Linked DNA regions of Homo sapiens: region 2 is linked to region 1. Evidence: promoter capture Hi-C in 16 types of primary human blood cells and fetal thymus (Javierre and others, 2016). All regions are on one chromosome and are shown on one strand. The core of a region is centred on a gene start or on the middle of the fragment in contact, and the rest is flanking DNA. Distances in the headings are between cores, read along the strand shown.

Region 1 (4,734 bases), core at 2,235-4,734:
TCCCAAAGTGCTGGGATTACAGGCATGAGCCACCACGCCTGACCTTAAAAATTTTTTTAAAGAGGAAGTTCAAACATTATTTCTTCTTGGAGGTCTTCCTTGTTGATGCATTCAATCATATATTCATCTATCTATTGACTCATTCAACAAGGATTGAGCACTTTTACGAAGGATAATGCAAGGTACTAAAGATATGATGGTAGGCCAAAAATAGAGGGTCACCTTCATCATCTCCTTGGAGGTCTATTGGAGGAAACTGGGTTTAGTAAACATATTATGTTCACACTGATTAATATATAATTACCAACTAACATACATGCTCTGAGGAAACAAACATTACTTTTTGCGAGCACATAGCCAAGAGGTCTTTACTAGATTGGGGTGGGTGGTAGGTAGAGGGGTGCAAGGAAGGCCTGAGGAAATAACAATGGGAATCAATTTGGAGGCATAAATAGGCCAAGTGGAAGTGAAAAGGACATTCCAGAAACAGGGACCATATAGAGCAATCAGGACAAACTTGAGGAATTGAAAGAAGCCATGAAGTTGGAGATATTAATAGAAGGGGAAGAGTGGTAGAAGATGGAGGGTTTCAGTGGGGAGAGGTCAAGGGATAGTGGTAGCCTGACTTGATGTGCATTTTGGAAAGATTACTCTAGCTGCTATATGGAGAATGGAAGAGTGTGAAGAGAAAGAGAGAATAGGGGATGGGAGACCAACTAAGACACTCTTGCAATTGCCTAGGTGAGACTGAGGTGGATTAGGGTGGTGCTAACAAAGAACAAGAAAGTAGATGGGCCGGGTGCGGTGGCTCACGCCTGTAATCCCAACACTTTCGGAGGCCGAGGCAAGTGGATCACTTGAGGTCAGGAGTTCGAGACCATCCTGACCAGCATTGTGAAACCCCGTCTCTACTAAAATACAAAAATTAGCTGGGCATGGTGGCTGGTGCCTGTAATCCCAGCTACTAAGGAGGCTGAGGCAGGAGAATCGCTTGAACCCGGGAGGTGGAGGCTGCAGTGAGCTGAGATCAGGCCACTGCACTCCAGCCTGGGGGATAGAGCAAGACTCTGTCTCAAAAAAAAAGAAAGAAAGAAAAAGAGAGAGTGAGAGAGAGAGAGAGAAAGAGAGAGAGAAAAAAAAAGAGAAAGAAAGAAAAAGAGAGAAAGAAAAAAGAAAGAAAGAAAGAAAAAGAAAAAAGAAAGAAAGAGAAAGTAAGAAATTTTTTTTCTTTTTTGAGACAGAGTTTCACTCTTGTCACCCAGGCTGGAGAATGCAGTGGCACAATCTTGGCTCACTGCAGCCTCTGCCTCCTGGGTTCAAGTGATTTTCCTGCCTCAACCTCCCAAGTAGCTGGGATTACAGGCATCAGCCACCATGCCCAGCTAATTTTTGTATTTTCAGTAGAGACGGGGTTTCACAATGTTGGTCAGGATGGTCTCAAACTCTTGACCTCAGGTGATCCGCCCACCTCGGCCTCCCAAAGTGCTGGGATTACAGTCATAAACCCAGCCGAAAGTAGATGATCTTTTTGTTGTTGTTTGTTTGGTTTTTTTTTGAGACGGAGTTTCGCTCTTGTTGCCCAGGTTGGAGTTGCAGTGGTGCGATCTCGGCTCACCTCAACCTCCGCCTCCTGGGTTCAAGCGATTCTCCTGCCTCAGCCTCCTGAGTAGCTGGGATTACAGGCATGAGCCACCAAGTCCGGCTAATTTTTGTGTTTTTAGTAGAGACGGTTTTCTCCATGTTGGTCAGCCTGGTCTTGAACTCCCAACCTCAGGTGATCCCCCTGCCTTGGCCTCCCAGAGTGCTGGGATTACAGGCGTGAGCCACCGCGCACAGCCTGAAAGTAGATGAATTTTAAAGATGCATACAATTAGTAAAGATACCTTACGTATCTTTAAATTTTTTTTTATAGAAACAGGATCTTGCTACACTGTCTAGGCTGGTCTGGAACTCCTGGCCTCAAGCGATCCACCTGGGCCATCCAAAGTGCTGGGAAAGACGCCTGTAACCCCAGGCTAGACAACGTAGCCAGATCTTGTCTCTACAAAAAAACACAAAAATTAGCTGGTGGCAGGCACCTGTAGTCCCAGCTACTTGAGAGGCTGAGGTTCCCACCTCAGGAGGCCGAGGCTGCGGTGAGCTGAGATCGCACCACTGCACTCCAGCCTGGGCGACAGAGTGAGACCCTGTCCCAAAAATGCATAAATAGTAAAACTAGTGAGAGTGAATGAGAGATGGGATATGTAAAGGGAGTGGGAGGAGTTAAGGAGTAACTCCTCGGTTTCTGGCTTGTGTAAGAATAACTTCTGTGATTGGTGGGGAAAATCCACCAGAGTTCTGTTAAGTGTTGTTCATTTCCTGTCCCCCGTTAGGGGTTACCCCTTCCATCTTAAGCAGGATATTCTAGGATCTCTCAGTCTCACAGCCTTGCCCACCAATAACCAGCAGGTGAGCCCCCTCTCCCCAGACCTCTAGATCTGCAAAAGGCAACCTGGAGGCAAGGAAATCCCCAGCTGTGAGTAGCCATTCAATTCTGGTGCTGTGGTAACTGAGTTCAAAAACAATGAGTCTTGTTACCTACCCGTAAAATGAAAGACACCTCATCAGACACCTCACTGGATTGTGAGGCTCCAAGGAGCACACATATTGTTAGGCTCAGTTCGATTCCCTCCAGCCCTCTCCGCCCGTTTGAAGGCAGTTCCTTATCCCGGAGACAACGTACAGATGTTCTCTCTTTCCCTCTTTATTTTTTTTAAGACAGGGTCTCTGTTGCCCAGGCTGGAGTGCAGTGGCGCGACCACAGCTCACTACAGCCTCAACCTCCTGGGCTCAACACGATCCTCCTGCCTCAGCCTCCAGAGCGGCTGGGACTACAAGCGCGCACCACTGCACAGGGATTATTATTATTATTTTATTATTTTGTAGAGAAACGGGTGGGAGTGGTCTCGCTATGTTGCCCAGGCTGGTCTCAAACTCAGCTCAAGAGATCCTCCCGCCTCGGCGTCCCAAAGTGTTGGGATTACAGGCGCCTGCCACCGCGCCCGGACGCAGATATTTTCTATGGGCATCTGGAATGGCGTCCCCAAAGCTTGGCGCCGTGCTATGGTCAAGCCGGGTCGGGGGCTCGGGCCAGCCTTCAACACCGTTGGCAGCAATCGGAACGATCAACTGTACCCTCAGTACCGCGACCTCGCCCGGTCCTGCCAATGGCCGGCCCCTAGCCGGTCCTGAGGCCTCGCGAGAGCTCCCGTGGCTACGCCTTCCCCGGCCTCGGAACGGCCCCATCCTTCCTCTTTCCCCGCCTCCCAGCGGCGCTCCACTCTCGGATTGGCTGATTGATCCGAGTCAGTTTTTTTCCTCGCCAGAAAGCGGTTCGACAATTGGTCCTTCTTTTGGCCCCTCCTGCGATGCCCGCGGATTGGACGGCTGAGTCTGGCTACGCGGGCCTCCGCGGGAGCGCGACCGGGCCAATCAAGAGCTTGGCGTATTTTACAAACTGAGAAAGTAGCTCCAGCAGCACCCGAGAGGGTCAGGAGAAAAGCGGAGGAAGCTGGGTAGGCCCTGAGGGGCCTCGGTAAGGTAAGGCACGGGGGTCTTGAAGGGAACGAAGGCTGCTGGGTTCATAGGGAGGAGGGCAGTTTGGGGCCCGAGGGCGAAAGAGTAGGCTCGGGGTGTCTGGAGATAGCACCCATAAGAGCGGTCTTGCAGGCGCCGGGGGCTTGTGGGCGCGTGGATTAGGGCGGAGGTATCAGGGATGGCAGGACAGGTGCCCCGAGAACTGGTTGATCTTTGATCTTAGATTCTGCCTGCCTTCTTCCCCGTCTCAATTGTAGCCATCATGACCACCCGGCAAGCCACGAAGGATCCCCTCCTCCGGGGTGTATCTCCTACCCCTAGCAAGATTCCGGTACGCTCTCAGAAACGCACGCCTTTCCCCACTGTTACATCGTGCGCCGTGGACCAGGAGAACCAAGATCCAAGGGTAAGAGGGGCCTAATGGGGGAAGACAGTAGTCACACCAGTAATGCACCCCAACACTAAACCTCACCTTTTTGTCCCCGCTCCCTCCCCTAGAGATGGGTGCAGAAACCACCGCTCAATATTCAACGCCCCCTCGTTGATTCAGCAGGCCCCAGGCCGAAAGCCAGGCACCAGGCAGAGACATCACAAAGATTGGTGGGGATCAGTCAGCCTCGGAACCCCTTGGAAGAGCTCAGGCCTAGCCCTAGGGGTCAAAATGTGGGGCCTGGGCCCCCTGCCCAGACAGGTACCTGTTGGAGCCATGGTAACACGGCCTCCATGGCTGAGTAGGGGACTAGGAAGGGTAAAAGTGGGGTTTTGGGGTTTTGCACTCACTCCTGCTGTCTCCTACTTACTGTGATAGTCCTGGTCCCAGCTCCTGGAAAGCTCTTTGCTCTTAGAAGATCTCCCTTTCCTCCAGCAAAATGTCATCTCGCCAGGTGCCATGGCTTGTACCTGTAATCACAGCTACTCAGGAGGCTGAAGCAGGAGGATCACTGGAGGCCAGGAGTTGGAGACCAGCCTGGATGACAGAGGGAGATCCCATCTCTTTAAAAAATAAATAAATAAATAAATAATAAATATCACTTCTTCTGAAGCCTTTTCCAGTTCCCCATGTCACAATCAGTTGCTCTGTGTTCTCCTAATACTTTGCAGCACTTCTTTTATAACATGTATATACCTTGGCTTGAGTCTGTTACCTGTCTATAGTTT
Region 2 (4,734 bases), core at 834-3,333, 230 kb before region 1:
CAATGGAGGCCTTTTGCAGCCAGGGTGTGGGAGATAAGTAAGACTGAGGGGGCTCCCAGGCCTGCCGGAGCCCCTCCTGAGCCTGTCCCTTGTTCTGCCCACTCTGCTGCAGGTGGCAACCAGAGGAAAGGGCCACAATGTTCCACGGCCAAGGAGGAAAGAAGGAATGCCCCTTTTCCCATCTCTAGGTAGGAGGAAGGCTTCAGGGCAGAAGCAAAAGGAATTATTTCTTCCCTGGACAGGTTTTCCTAACAAAGTAACCTGGAAAACTATGGCAATTAATCAGAGGAAATCCGTACCCCTCCCTCTCCCCCCACCTCCCCACTCCATACACAATTAGGTGGTGTAATGGAAAGTATATAGGGCTTAGAATCAGGAGTCCTGAATTCTAGTCCCAGCCATGCCACTTTAAATTGTGAGAGTTTAAATTGCTTTTCCTCCTGGGGGAAGTCCAGCTCTCAGATGTAAAATGAGGGTGGCAGTGGGGGTGGGGAGGGTTGGAGGAATGTCATCTCTCAAGTTTTCTTTCAGTTCTAACATTCAAGATCACTGGCCAGGCTGGATGAAGTGGCTCACACCTGTAATCCAGCACTTTGGGAGGCCGAGGTGGGAGGATCCCTTGAGCTCAGGAGTTCAAGACTAGCCTAGGCAACATGGCAAGACCCCGTCTCTACAAAAAATAAAAAATAAATCACTCGCCAGAGGTGGTCCTTCTCTTCCACCTCACTCTAGGTGGTTCCAATGCTCAAAAATGGTAGTTGAATTTATCCTAATTATGTAATTCCAAGGAAAGCCCCTGAGATAGGCAGAGCTTGGAAGACTTAGGAGCCCTCTGATTCTCAGGTGGGTCCATCTGTTATTCTCACTGAGGATTACTTTTTAACCCCAAGATTATCGTTTAGACCCTAGGATAGCCCTAGAATAGACCCTAGAATAGATGTGTCCTGGTTCTAGGACACGTTTCCCATGCCAAAAGCAATGTCTGCCCAGCCCCTCCTCAGGTAGATGGTCTGGTGACCTGACCCTTGGCCACCCCTGTCCCAGCCCTTTTCAGTCTCTTCTTTTCGGCCCACAGAGCTTTTCTACAATCAGGTCAGGAGCCAGGCTTCTGTCTGCTACCTAGCCAGCTCCTGGCCCCCAGCTCACCCCAGCCCTTCCTGCCTGGCTGGGTGGCTGACCCCCGGTCCACGCCTCAGCCATTTCCCGTCTCGCCTGCCGCCATCCTCCTTTCCCCGCCCTCGCTGCCTCTACCAGCTTCACTCTCACTAGTCAGTCCCTCCTCCCCTCCCCATCCCAGACTATTCTAGTCGGGAGCCGTCCTAATTACTCTGTCCAGACTGCAAGGATTTTTCCCCCCCCTGGGGCTGGTGACAAGGGAAATCTCTAAGGCTAAACTCTCTGTAGGTGAAGCTGGACTCACCCACCTGGGCTGCCATAGGAAAACGGAGGAGCTGGCAGTGCCCCGGCGCAGGTAGGGAGAGGCCCTCCTTACCTCGGTCATCAGGCGGTCGGCTCCACTGTTCTCCTCATCCTTGAAGATGATGTCGGGGTTGTAGTTGGGCACGAGGTCCCGGAAGCGCTCGGAGCCCCTTGCCACCCTCCCCTCCGCTGGCCCACTGGCGCCCAGGGTCCGCTCTGGCACGCCGGGCACAAATTGCTTGTAGAGTAGCGGCACGAGCTGCTTGCGCGCATAGCGGCGCCGGCCAACCGGCCCCCGGCCCGGCCCGCAGCTCTGGGCTGGCAGCGCCAGAAGTGCCAAGCAGCACAGGGGCAGTAGATTGGTCAGGAGAGCCATGGATACAGCGGACCTCGGCCAAAAGGGAGCGTTCTTGTCCTCACTAACTCTCCTGTCAGTTAGGCATCTCCACAGGCACCAGAGAGGGCAGCAGGCACAGCTGCCCCCAGAGTGCCCTAGAGCTCTTGTGGCTCCGTGCACCTGGCTGCTGCTAGCTCTGCCCACGTGCCCCGGGAGCGGGCGGGGGGTGTCTAGGACCTGCTACTGACAAACCATCATAGCAGGGAAGGGGGGTCGTGGGTGAGTGCCAGCCCAGCCCGTCTCTGCTGCAGGACTCTGGTGCTGCCAGAACGCCCGGACTCCGGACTCCGCCTTAAGTGGCCCCTGGCCCCGCCCTCCGCCCTTCTCCCAAGACCGTCCCACCCCCTCCCACCCGGGCGGGGGATCTAGCCGGTCACTGCTGGTCCATTTTGCGACTGAAGTGTGTCCCATCCTGGAAACCAGGCAGACACCTGCCTAGGAAATACTTGTAGCTTTACAGTCCTTGGCTGCCTAAACATCCTTCTACCTCCAAGCTTAAACTTGGAACCAAACCACCCTCCTCTGATACTTGAATTGGAATTTTTACTCTCTCAAAGCCTACCCTGGCAGGCCATGCCCTCCGCTGTCATCCAGGAAGTATGGGTTCCAATTTCTGCCCAAGACCAGCCAAGCCCTTTGGGCATACAACCAGAGCCTCCCTTCTCTGTAGTCCTCCCCAGATCTCCCCGACTTCCATCTCTCCTCACATTCAGCATTAAGCAGGACTGGGAGGTGAGGATACCAGGGGCCCATTTCTCTACTAACTTTGCAGTCTCCTTTGGAACTTCCCCAGAACCAGGAACAGAGCTTGGTACTTATTGTCTCATTTAGGACTTCCAACTTTTTTCCCCTTCTCTTCTTTGCCAGGCATCTAATAGCTGCTGTTTTTCAAATGAATGACTTCTCAGTTGGAAGCTGCTGAAGGGCAGTGGACACTCAAAAGTCTTTGTAAGAGGTGAGGATCACTTCCCTTAACCGTCCATCTAGGCACCTCTCCAGCTTTCTCCCTCTCTGGACTCCCGGGGCTCCATTTTCAGCCACTCAGATCTCATCTCAGAGGCACCACGTCCAATTTCTTTTGTTTAGAAGTCATTTCTTCTAAGAAGCCTTCCTTGATGTCCCAACACTGCCCACCTGTGTTCCCTCGAGAACCATTACTTAACTGCAGTGTTAGAACAGTATTAGAATTATCTGGCACCTTACTAGACAAAGCAATCTTAAGCACACACATATTTATCATGTATCTCCAAGGTTAAGTGCCTACTCTACAGAAGGGTGCTTTGCAAGCATTTGTGGAATCTACACTTTGTGTTTCATATTCACCCTCCCCTCACCACACTCTATGGCTAGTACTCATAGCAACTTTGTGTACATCAGAAAAAACCAGGCCAGGCACAGTGGCTCACTCCTGTAATCCCAACACTTTGGGGGCGAGGCAAGGACTGCTTGAGGCCATGAGTTGAAGACCAACTTGGTCAACATAGTGACACCCCGTTTCAAAAAAAAAAAATTAATTAGTGGGAGGTAGTGGTACATGCCTGTAGTCTTAGGTACTCAGGAGGCTGAGGAAGGAGGATCACTTGGGTGCAAGAGTTCAAGGCTGTAGAGTGAGCTAAGATCATGCCACTGCACTCTAACCTGGGTGACAGAGTGAGGACCCCCCCCCCCAAAAAAAAGATGGCTGGGTGTTGTGGCTAACCCCTGTAATTCCATCATTTGGGGAGTCCAAGGTAGGTGGATCACTTGAGCTCAGGAGTTCAAGACCAGCCCAGGCAACATGGCAAAACCCCATCTCTACTAAAAATACAAAAATTAGCCAGGCATGGTAGCATGTGTCTGTTGTCCTAGCTATTCTGGAGCCTGAGCTGGAAGAATGGCTTGAGCCCAGAATGCGGAGGTTGCAGTGAGCTGAGATTGCACCACTGCACTCCAGCCAGGGTGATAGAGCCAGACCTTGTCTCACAAAAAAAAAAAAAAAAAAAAGAAGAAGAAAAAAGAAAAAAAAAGCACCCCTTCCTCAAGATGACTGACATTTATTAGAAAACTATCATAGTAACTATCCACACAATGACTATGAGGTGAATGGTGTCCCTGGAAGCTGTGCAATACACAATCTGTATAAGCCTAAGTTTTGCGCTCTTACTCCCAACATAGCACATGGGCTTTTCAAGAAACTGATGGCCTCTAGTAAAAAGCTAGATTCTTCTCTCAGGTAGGAAATGAAAATCCTTGTCAGCCAGCCACTTATTTTACTCTATATCCAATAGTTAAGCCAGGGAGGATAGGGCTGAAGGTATGAGTGTATCGGGGAGGTTAGCCTACTCCTATGCCCATGTCCTACCCCCAATACTCAAGGTACAGAAACAAGGCCATGAATATAAGGAGGAGTCAGGGGACAAGCCAGCTTTAAGCAAGACTGAGGATGGAGGAGTTTCCCACTGCCCAACTGCATGGCCTAACACCAGATCCAAGTCCCCAAAGGATGGTAATAATATAGATGAAGGGGAAGGAAAAGGATGGTGGGCAGGACCCCTCTGCTTCTCTTACTGGGCAGACGCCGGGCTGGTGGGAGCAAGGCTGTTCAAATATACACAGAGACAGGTGCTTTAAAAAAACAAAGCAAACCCTGGGATCAACTTTATTGCTGATGGCTGAAGCCTCCTCCTCCCTATCCCCTTGGTCTTTCAGGTGGTCCAAAGCCCCTCCAGGATAGCACAGTGCTTAGGCTCTGCTGGGCCAGAGGCAAGGGAGACAATCTATCTCCCGAGCCTGCCCTGGCCCAGTCCTTTCCCTGCCCCTACCCCACCCTATTGCACATCAAATCATGTAAACATGGCTATGGGGATGGCCCAGAACAGCAGTGAGGCAGATTGATGTGTAAACAGATTTGGGATCAGGGGCTAGACCCAGTCACCCAG

The links. The method cuts DNA at HindIII sites, captures the fragments that hold promoters and counts their contacts. A CHiCAGO score of 5 or more calls a contact.
Region 2: the fragment with the promoter of DHH here is called in contact with the fragment with the promoter of TROAP in region 1 in 9 of 17 cell types (neutrophils, M2 macrophages, erythroblasts and 6 more); the score reaches 12.3 in neutrophils.

What each region holds. Positions count from the first base shown.
Region 1 is chr12:49,319,771-49,324,504 of GRCh38, forward strand. TROAP (trophinin associated protein) reads left to right here and starts at 3,485. Exons shown (of 15, transcript NM_005480.4): 1 at 3,485-3,579; 2 at 3,834-3,982; 3 at 4,075-4,267. The coding sequence starts at 3,839. It overlaps TROAP-AS1 (TROAP and PRPH antisense RNA 1), which reads right to left. Exons shown (of 8, transcript NR_120449.1): 1 at 4,722-4,734; 2 at 4,377-4,569. RefSeq lists enhancers at 2,198-2,417, 3,559-3,708. The HindIII fragment of the contact is 3,639 bases long and covers 3,087-4,734 here.
Region 2 is chr12:49,092,718-49,097,451 of GRCh38, forward strand. DHH (desert hedgehog signaling molecule) reads right to left here and starts at 2,084. Exons shown (of 3, transcript NM_021044.4): 1 at 1,493-2,084. The coding sequence starts at 1,795. DHH-AS1 (DHH antisense RNA 1) reads left to right here. Exons shown (of 4, transcript XR_007063295.1): 2 at 113-188; 3 at 1,405-1,471; 4 at 2,684-3,027. It overlaps LMBR1L (limb development membrane protein 1 like), which reads right to left. Exons shown (of 17, transcript NM_018113.4): 17 at 4,422-4,734. RefSeq lists an enhancer at 1-101 and a cis regulatory region at 21-38. The HindIII fragment of the contact is 10,631 bases long and covers 1-2,308 here.